Regions from separate parts of the Homo sapiens genome. Here all the other regions are linked to region 3. Evidence: promoter capture Hi-C in 16 types of primary human blood cells and fetal thymus (Javierre and others, 2016). All regions are on one chromosome and are shown on one strand. Each heading gives the region's core, a stretch centred on a gene start or on the middle of the fragment in contact. The rest is flanking DNA. Distances are from core to core; before and after follow the strand shown. Region 1 has its middle 46 kb from the start of FAM53A. Region 2 holds the start of SLC26A1 (solute carrier family 26 member 1). Region 3 holds the start of MAEA (macrophage erythroblast attacher, E3 ubiquitin ligase).

Evidence for each region. Contacts are between HindIII fragments. The CHiCAGO score rates a contact against its expected background, and 5 or more counts as called.
Region 1: a contact is called between a fragment that was not itself captured here and the fragment with the promoter of MAEA in region 3, in 1 of 17 cell types (endothelial precursors). The highest score is 5.9, in endothelial precursors.
Region 2: a contact is called between the fragment with the promoter of SLC26A1 here and the fragment with the promoter of MAEA in region 3, in 2 of 17 cell types (M1 macrophages and M2 macrophages). The highest score is 5.8, in M1 macrophages.

Annotation. Positions count from the first base shown.
Region 1 is chr4:1,637,110-1,639,809 of GRCh38, forward strand. It overlaps a transcript of FAM53A not described here. Among named protein-coding and RNA genes, the nearest start is that of FAM53A, 46 kb to the right of the region's middle. The HindIII fragment of the contact is 4,008 bases long and covers 1-2,700 here.
Region 2 is chr4:992,032-994,731 of GRCh38, forward strand. SLC26A1 (solute carrier family 26 member 1) reads right to left here and starts at 1,373. Exons shown (of 3, transcript NM_022042.4): 1 at 1,270-1,373. All of the region lies in intron 2 of IDUA (alpha-L-iduronidase), which reads left to right. RefSeq lists enhancers at 710-1,521, 1,522-2,333. The HindIII fragment of the contact is 37,873 bases long and covers 370-2,700 here.
Region 3 is chr4:1,288,396-1,291,182 of GRCh38, forward strand. It overlaps MAEA (macrophage erythroblast attacher, E3 ubiquitin ligase), which reads left to right and starts at 1,496. Exons shown (of 9, transcript NM_001017405.3): 1 at 1,496-1,587. The coding sequence starts at 1,519. It overlaps LOC105374347 (a long non-coding RNA gene), which reads right to left and starts at 1,176. Exons shown (of 3, transcript XR_925046.3): 1 at 490-1,176. RefSeq lists silencers at 1,017-1,426, 1,527-1,806. The HindIII fragment of the contact is 13,993 bases long and covers 1-2,736 here.

The DNA of each region.
Region 1 (2,700 bases), core at 157-2,656, 350 kb after region 3:
GGCAGACAAGCTCTCGGCACAGGGAGGTCCGGGGCTCTCAGCTGGGCTGGGCTGCCATGCCTCCGGCACCCATGCTCGGGTGGGGGGTGGGGGCGGGGATGGCCAGAGAATAGGCCCAGGATAAGGAACAAAAAGTTAGACAAGCACGGGGCCTGTGACTGCAGGGGACTGGCTGGCTCTGAGGCCCTGGCACAGAGGCTGCCACCCCACGCTGCCAGGGAGGCTCCCAGCCAGGCCGTCCCCACCTCCCCGGGTCTTCAGAGGCTCTGGGCAGGGCTGGAGGGAACGGTTGGGGGTGAGGCCAGCCCTCGAGGGACAGAGGGAGCCTGGGGGAGGATGGAGACGTATTCAGGAGAAGACATAGGTGTGGATGCTCTGGGAAGGGTGGGGAAGCCATCCCTCTCTCATCCCCATATCCCTGCCCCACCTCGCCTCAGCCTCTTCCCCTCAGGAGCCCTCCACAGGGACAGGAGCCCTGCAGTGGGGAAGGCCCCAGGAGAGGGGGAGGGCTGGGGGCAGCCCGGCAGGGGTGGGCAGGGGTGGGCAGGGGTGGGCCACTGCAGCAGTGCTGGGGGCTAGGGGCAGGGAGGGGCCTGTCTGAAGGATCCCAGCCTTGGGACTGAGGAGTGGCCTCACAGGCCCCCAGCGCAGGAAGGGAGCTGTCCCAGGGTACCAGGCACAACCCCGGCCCTCCCACCATGTCTGCCCAGCCCAGTGGATCCCACACGGGCTGACCGCTGAGGTGGGTGCCCAAAGCAGGTCCCAGGGACCCAGGGGCTGCACTGTGCCTCAGGCCCCCCATTCCTCCCATCCACCTGTCCACGGCTCTGGGGTCACCCCAGAGGGCCCTGGGACCCCCTGCCTGTGGCTAGTCGAGGAAAGACCAAGTCCAGGCCCACCGTGGGTGACACAGCTGAGCAGCCCCCACCCCACCAGAACTTCCTGCAGCTTCAGCAGCAGCCTCTCTCCATCCCCAAGGGGCCAAGCATCCACACGAGGCAGCAGGCCAACCCCCAAGGCTGCCCCCGGCCTCAGGCAGGTGACCCTGCAGGGCCAACCAAGGGACTCAAATGCCCCTGGTGAGGGTCCTGGCCCCCCATTCCAGGAAACACGCAGACACGCCCAAGGGAAAATACAGCCCTGGGGACAAGCCCCAGGGGCCGGGCTGTGAGCTCACTCGCACACACACGCCACCCTGTGCTAGGCAGACAGGGGACCCAAGGGTGCCCTGAACCTTCCGTCTCAGTCTCCCCACCCGCAGAGGACACAGCAGGTCGGCACTGCAGAAGAACCGGCTGCACTGCCCCACCGAGGGCCCCACCAACCAGACACCCTACATCAAGGGCACCGAGGGGAATGGCCCTGGGCTCGGGCCTCAGGAGGAGCCTCCAGCCCCACTCACCAGCCAGCCGGAAAGGTTCTGCCCAGGAGAGCCAGAGGTTTGGGGAAGGAGGAGATGAGGTAGGGTAGGAGGTGAGAGAGGTGGGGAAGCCCTGGGGGAAGGTGGCAAGTCCAAGGGTTGCAGGCAGGACCAGACGCTCCGTCAAGGGAAGGGGAGTGTCGGAGGGGTGGGGGGCGGCTGGTGACTGCACACGTAAACCCCAGCTCACCCCACATCCCCTCGCTCCCACACACCCAGGCCAGGCTCAGAGCTGGTGAGGGGCCCCTGGGCTGGGGTGTGAGCAGTCAGTGGCCCCCCTCCTCCTGCCTGTCCTTGAAGGGGACTCAGGTAGCGAGAGTCAGCTGGGAACTGTTCTAGACTCCAGGTAACACAGTGGACAGATCTCCCAAACCTGGGTCACCATCCAGCGGGAGGGGACGCCGGGTGGACTCAGCGTAGAGAGTGACTGCAGGGAGGGGGCGAGGCCCCACCTGCCCCTGGGGCATCCAGGCCTTGGTGGGGACCTCGGGCCCCTCTGCAGCCACAGCGACACACCCTGCCTCATCTCTGACGCCCTCCCCGACCTGCAGCAGAGGGCCCTGTGGGACCCTGGCAGGCCTGACACCACCACCATGCCAGCCCCACAGCCCTGTCTCCCATTGCTGTCCAGATTGCCATGTCCTGCAGACCAGTGGCCGGTGCCCTGGAGGCCACTCCAGCCCCACAGCCAGCCTCTGACCTGAGGGACCCTGCCCTGTACTAAGTCATCTCAGAGCACCGCCCGCCCCACCCCAAATCCCAGCACCCTGGATGACTACGCAGGTGACTGTGGCTTTTGCTAAACCACCCGGAGCTGATCTCCACAAATTTAATCCAAAACACAACCTTCCTGTGCAGTCTGGCAACTGTGTCAAAGTCCAATGCCAGGGCCCTCCCTTCCCTTCACACGAGGCCAGGGGTGGCTCTGGGGAGCAGGTGACACTCTCTTGAGCCCCTGTTCTGTCAGTCCCAGCACAGGAGCCACCCAGGGCCTGCCAACGACAGGAGGGCTCCTGACCCCGGGCCAGCACAGCAGGAGAGTAGGCACTGCCCCAACGGAGGAGGGCAGAGCCTGGCCAGGAAGGGGGATCCCACTTGCTAAGGCCCCAAACTCCCCAGCGCCATCCCCCGTCTTGCAGGGCAGAGGCAGGAGGGTCACCCGAGAGCCAGAACCCCACTTTCACCCAAGCAGCTCGGCCTCAGGAAAGCTGATCCAACAAAACCACACCACTCGCCACCTTTGCCCACCTTTGATCTGTGGCCCATGTCAGTTAAGAAAG
Region 2 (2,700 bases), core at 123-2,622, 300 kb before region 3:
CAGCTCCGGCCTATTGGCTCTGCGGTTCCTGGCTGAAAACCACCCTGTAGCCTCCTGAAGCTCACCTCCCCAACGGGGCAGGAACAGGCTGGGCTGCCACCACGCACATGTGCCTACCGTCAGAATGTCACAGTCACTGGACACAGGTGCAGGCAAGCCTGAGTCCAGCTGCTCCGTGTCCACCTCCCTGGCTCCCCAGGTTGGCAAACGGTCCTGCTGTCCACCCCATGCCCACACCAGAGCCCTCCCTCCCCCATCCAAACCATCGCCTGCTCTCCTGGAGACACCTCCACCCACCCCTCTGTCACCTGCCCTGTGGGTCCTGGGGCTGGCGGAAGTCTCAGGAAGAGGCCTCCTATGTCCCTGCCAAGCTTTGTGGGTACTGGGACCCCAAGTCTGCTGGGGGAGCAGCACTCAGACACTAGCCTAGCCCATCCGCCTGGACTTGGGACAGAATTCTGAGAATATGCCTGGACGGGGGCCCCATCAGGGCCAGCTGGGAGGGGAGGAGGGTGACTGGCGTCTGTCTCCCCTGCCCAGACAGTTCTGGGACGTGAGGCGCCCTTTTTCCCAGGCTGCACCAGCTCACTGTGGAACGGCCATGACACACTGTCCCGAGGCAGCACCGAGAGGGCCCAGCCCGCTGCACACAGTCACCCTGGGCCGGCAGAGCCGGAAGGGCACCTGACCTTTCCCTTGATCTCGGAAAACACCGTGGCGTTAGGGAGGCGGTGCTTAGAGGCCTGACTGGTCCCACGTGAGGCCTCGGGTCTGTCCTGTTTGCAGACTCCAATGTACTTTCACTTTAAACATTCTTCTCAGCGACGTTAGGCAAAGACTTTGCTCCCAGGACACCAGGTGCCCAGGACACCCTGGAGCCTGGGCTGAGCCTGCTGTTTGCACGCTGGCCCAGGGTGTGCGAGCTCCAGTCTCCTGGCGGGTGTGTTGGGGCAGTGAGCCCAGCCTGGTAGGTTGACACATGCAGGCTGGGCACAGCACCCCTGGGGCACAGAGCGGGGGTCCTGGCCCTCAGGCAACATTGCAAGAGTTGTGTCCCCTTCCCTGGAAGACCCCACCACACTGGGTCCCTGGATGCCCTGAAGCCCACCCCAAGCCCCTGGGGTCCAGGTGTGTGGAATGGGGACAGTAGGGCCACCTGCCTTGAGCCTGAGGGTGCCCCTAAGAAACCACGAGTCCAGGGCATTTCTGGCCTCGGCTCCCACGCCCCCCTCTGCTGCAGCTGAGATCTGGGCCCAGGATGGTTCTTACCTGAGGGAGTCCTCACAGGCGCGGAGGGCCCTGGGATGACGAGGGGCTGGCAAGACCACCGAGGACCGCAGGGCCCTCTGGCTCCCGCGAGCAGCGGGGAGAGTGGGGGTGGTGGCGCCAACCTGCAGGCAGTGGTCTGTGCCCTGGACTCTGTAGTTCAATTATTTACCTACAGATTGCTGAGTCATGGGTTTCTCCAGCCATGTTACCTGATCGGCTGATCCGGGAGTTGAACTGTAATCAGGGGCTTGTAGGAGTTAGAGCTGTGTGGGCCTCTGAGGAGCTCCCAGCCTCCCAGGAGCCGCTGCAGCTGTGGCTCTGCGGCCCTGCCGGGGGGGCTTAGGGACCAGCGGGAGGCGGGGGCTCAGGGGCTGAGCACAGGTAAACCTTCAGCTCTGGGGTCTGGGGTCGAGTGCAGCAGCCTTCAAACCCAGGCGGGGCTGAGGGAGGCTTGGTCTCCGTGTCCAGTCGCCGGACACCCTCCTGGTCCTGCAAGGAGCCAGCCTGGTCCAAGCTGGAGCAGGGCAGAGGCTGACAGCCGGCTCAGCCCAAGGCTGCCGGTGCGTGCATATGCGTGTGTGCTCGCGTAAGCCCTGTGTGTGGTGCTCACCGCCCAGGGCGAGGACTGCCGGGGTCAAGGTGCCGTGACTGGCCAGGAGTCCTGGTCTGACTGGACCCAGCACCGACCCACAGCGCCTGGTCACCCTCACGGCTCCTCTGCCCTCCCCTCTACCACAGACCAGGACCGGCAGTGCCTGCCTCATAGGGCTGGGGTGAAGATAAATGATTTTTTTAAGTGAACTAAATTAGGCCCACACGTGAAAATAAGGGTAAGCTGCTTTTTAAAAGGAATTATTAGCCAGGCACGATGGTTCACTCCTGTAATTCCAACACTTTGGGAGGCCTAGACAGGAGGATCGCTTAAGGCCAGCAGTTCAAGACCAGCCTGGTCAACATAGTGAGACGCCCCCCACCTTTTCTTTTTTTTTTTTTGAGGCGGAGTCTTGCTCTGTCACCCAGGCCGGAATGCAGTGGTGTGATCTCGGCTCACTGGAAGCTCTGCCTCCTGGGTTCACGCCATTCTCCTGCCTCAGCCTCCTGAGTAGCTGGGACTACAGGCGCCCGCCACCGCGCCCGGCTAATTTTTTTTTTTTTGAGACGGAGTTTCGCTCTGTTGCCCAGGCTGGAGTACAGTGGCATGATCTCGGCTCACTGCAAGCTCTGTCTCCCGGGTTCAAGTGATTCTCCTGCCTCAGCCTCCCGAGTAGCTGGGACTACAGGCACCCGCCACCACGCCCGGCTAATTTTTTGTATTTTTAGTAGAGACGGGGTTTCACCATGTTAGCCAGGATGGTCTTGATCTCCTGACCTCGTGATCCACCCACCTCGGCCTCCCAAAGTGCTGGGATTACAGGCTTGAGCCACTGCACC
Region 3 (2,787 bases), core at 246-2,745:
AGGGTTAAACAACCTCTCCAACGTGCAAACCTCTGCCTTATAATTCCTAAGTATTTCTGACTGTAGATGGTACTAGGATAGGATCATTTTACCATGGAAATGAAACCCGTGTCCTTTCCTTTGGGTTAATCTTGAATCCCTGGTGAAGTGAAGGCAGTCTCTAAGAGGAGTGCAGTCCATCCAACTGCTGCAGTGCTCCTGTGTACTACTGGGACCATCCCGGAGAGTGGCAGACACGATGCGAACCGTGAAAGGACGCAAAGAGTACAGAGTGCATGCTTCCATCTCTATAGGAAGGTCAGGAACGCTGTTACGGGGAGCAGGGTTAGAATGATGGGGATATAGCCCGGGAAGGGGCAGAGGAGCTTTCTGTGCCACGGGAAATGTCCTAAATCTCAACCAGGACACGGTTAGATAAAAGTGCAAATATGGGTGAAAATTCATTAAAGCTGTATAGTTAAGATTTGTGCACCTCACTGTAAAACTTACTTCAAATGTCTAAAAGACTGGAGTCTGCAGCCACACACTTGAGGAATAACACTTTCCTTAGTCCCAACTCCTGTTTAAGTAAGACAGAGAAAGATTCCACAGTGCGGGTCGGATGTCTTGCGGCTGTAACATGTAGCAGCCTCCAAGCGGAGGTTCTCCCTTCATCGCTGTGTCACCTTAGATGTTTTTCCTTTGTTTAAACACCAAATATTTTAAAAGTTGTTTAGAAATGTGTTATGTGAAACACAAGGTGGTTTAATTGGGACGTCATTTCCTAATTAATAAAATCTAATTTCAGTTTTATTTTGGAAAGGAGGGAGACGGGTGGTGTTTGAAAGGCTGAGAATGTGAAGTGGCTGAAATGAAGGCAGCGCACGACCTGGATGCCAGCGCTGCCCGCCCTGCAAGGAGAGGGCGGAGAGGCCACACGCTTCTCATGCTTCGGGAGTTTCTGTCCATAAATCAGTTTTAGGTACTGGGCCTTTCCTCTTCCGTTGGGAAGTCGGAGGTTCCACATCAGGATTCCAGCAGCTGTAAATCGGTCAAAATAAGGCCAAAGAAAAATAGCTGGCTACAGGCGCATGCGGCCAGGCGTTTTGTTGGCGTTGCCCTTGGTACCGCAGGCACGAGGGACCCACAGGGGACCACCCCGCGGGAGCCCCAAGTAACTGGACGGACGCCAAGTCCCCCAGCCCGCTCGGCCCCAGCTCCACCCGCCCGGGCCGCAGCCCGCACCCCATCGGCCCGCCCCGGGCCAGGAGCATCCCCAGCTCCGGCGTCTGCGGCCTGAACCCGGTAGCGAATTCAAGGTGGAAACCGCCAGCCGGGGCTATCGTTGATTGGCTGAACGAGAGGAAACCCGGCAGTGATTGGTTCGCGCCTTCTTCCGCCTCCGGCCGACTGGGCGGATACGATTGGTGCAGGGGCATCGGCCCGCCCCCATCCTGCTCCGGCCGGCGCGTGGCGTCATTTCCCGGCGTGCAGCGCGCTCGCGCGTCCCCCGCCCGCTAATGTTTTGGCCGCTTCAAGATGGCGGTGCAGGAGTCGGCGGCTCAGTTGTCCATGACCCTGAAGGTCCAGGAGTACCCGACCCTCAAGGTGGGCGCCTGCGCCGCGCAGGCTGAGGGCAGCGAAGGCGTCTCCAGCCAGTGCCCTCGGGCCGCGAGGGGCCGCCCCGGGAGGGCCAGCGGCGAGGGCGGCGGGAGCTGGGCGCGGCCTCGCGGGGCCGTGCGGGCTTCTCAGGGGCGCCCGGTCCGCGCCGGGCAGGTGTGGCGGGGGCGGCGGCTTTGGCCCTGCCAGGCGCCCGACTGTGGCCCCTCTGCTTGAAGAGCTGCGTGAGCCGAGCCAGCGACGACTCTGGCAGCGCTAAGGGTGGCGAATTTGGGGCTGGGGTGGAAGCCGGAGTTTGCGGGGCGTGGGGTCTCTGGCGCCCAGGCAGACGGAGTGCGCGGCGTGCCCAGCCAGTGCCCGGCCGCCCTCCCGGGAGCCCAGGGCTGGGAGGTGCCGGCTGCGCCGGTCGCTAGTTAGGAACTGTAGGGAGAAACCTCACGGCCTGATGGCACCCAGCGACCTTTTTGATGGGCGTCACCAAACCTGAAATACAGCTCTTGCCGTCCGGCTGCCGGTTGCGTGACCTTGGGTGGTCACCTAGCCACGTCGCACTTCTTAGAATGAAATTTGTGCTCCTAGTAGAAGGAGCCGATACTTGTTCTTTACCTAGTTAGTAGAGGATTTGATATGAAGCACCTGGGAAGGAATTCCTTAAAAGATCAAGGTCATAGCTTTCCTAGAGCTGCGGCTGAGCTTCGTGGTTCTGTGTTGCCTTCCTGGAGAGCTGCGTAGTTTCTCTCTCCTCCCAGAGCGCCCTGGTGTTCACGTCCGTCTGAGGACGGACGGTGTGGCGACAGGTGTGGAGGATGCAGTATGGCCAGGTTGCTGTGCGTTCCCCCAGCCCCAGGGCAGTTCAGCGAAGGGCTGAAGAGCACAGGCTGTGAGCCATCCTGCTGGGGTGTGAATCAGGCTTCTCTGTATTCGTCCTTACTGGGAGACATCAGGGCCCGGTTGGTGACTGTTTATTCTTGTCAGGTTTAAGCAGTGGTAGCGCCTGTGTCACCTCAGGGTGAAATGAGTGACCACGTATTGTTTCAAACAGTGCCTAGCATTCATTAAAAGGTCCCTGCTACAGTTAGCGCTGCTGAAGTCAGGCTGTACCCTGCTGTAGCTGGTCTTCATAGGAAAGCAGAAGCAAGCTTCTCCTCCTCTTTATTAACTAGCGGTTTATTTCATATTTTTAAAAAG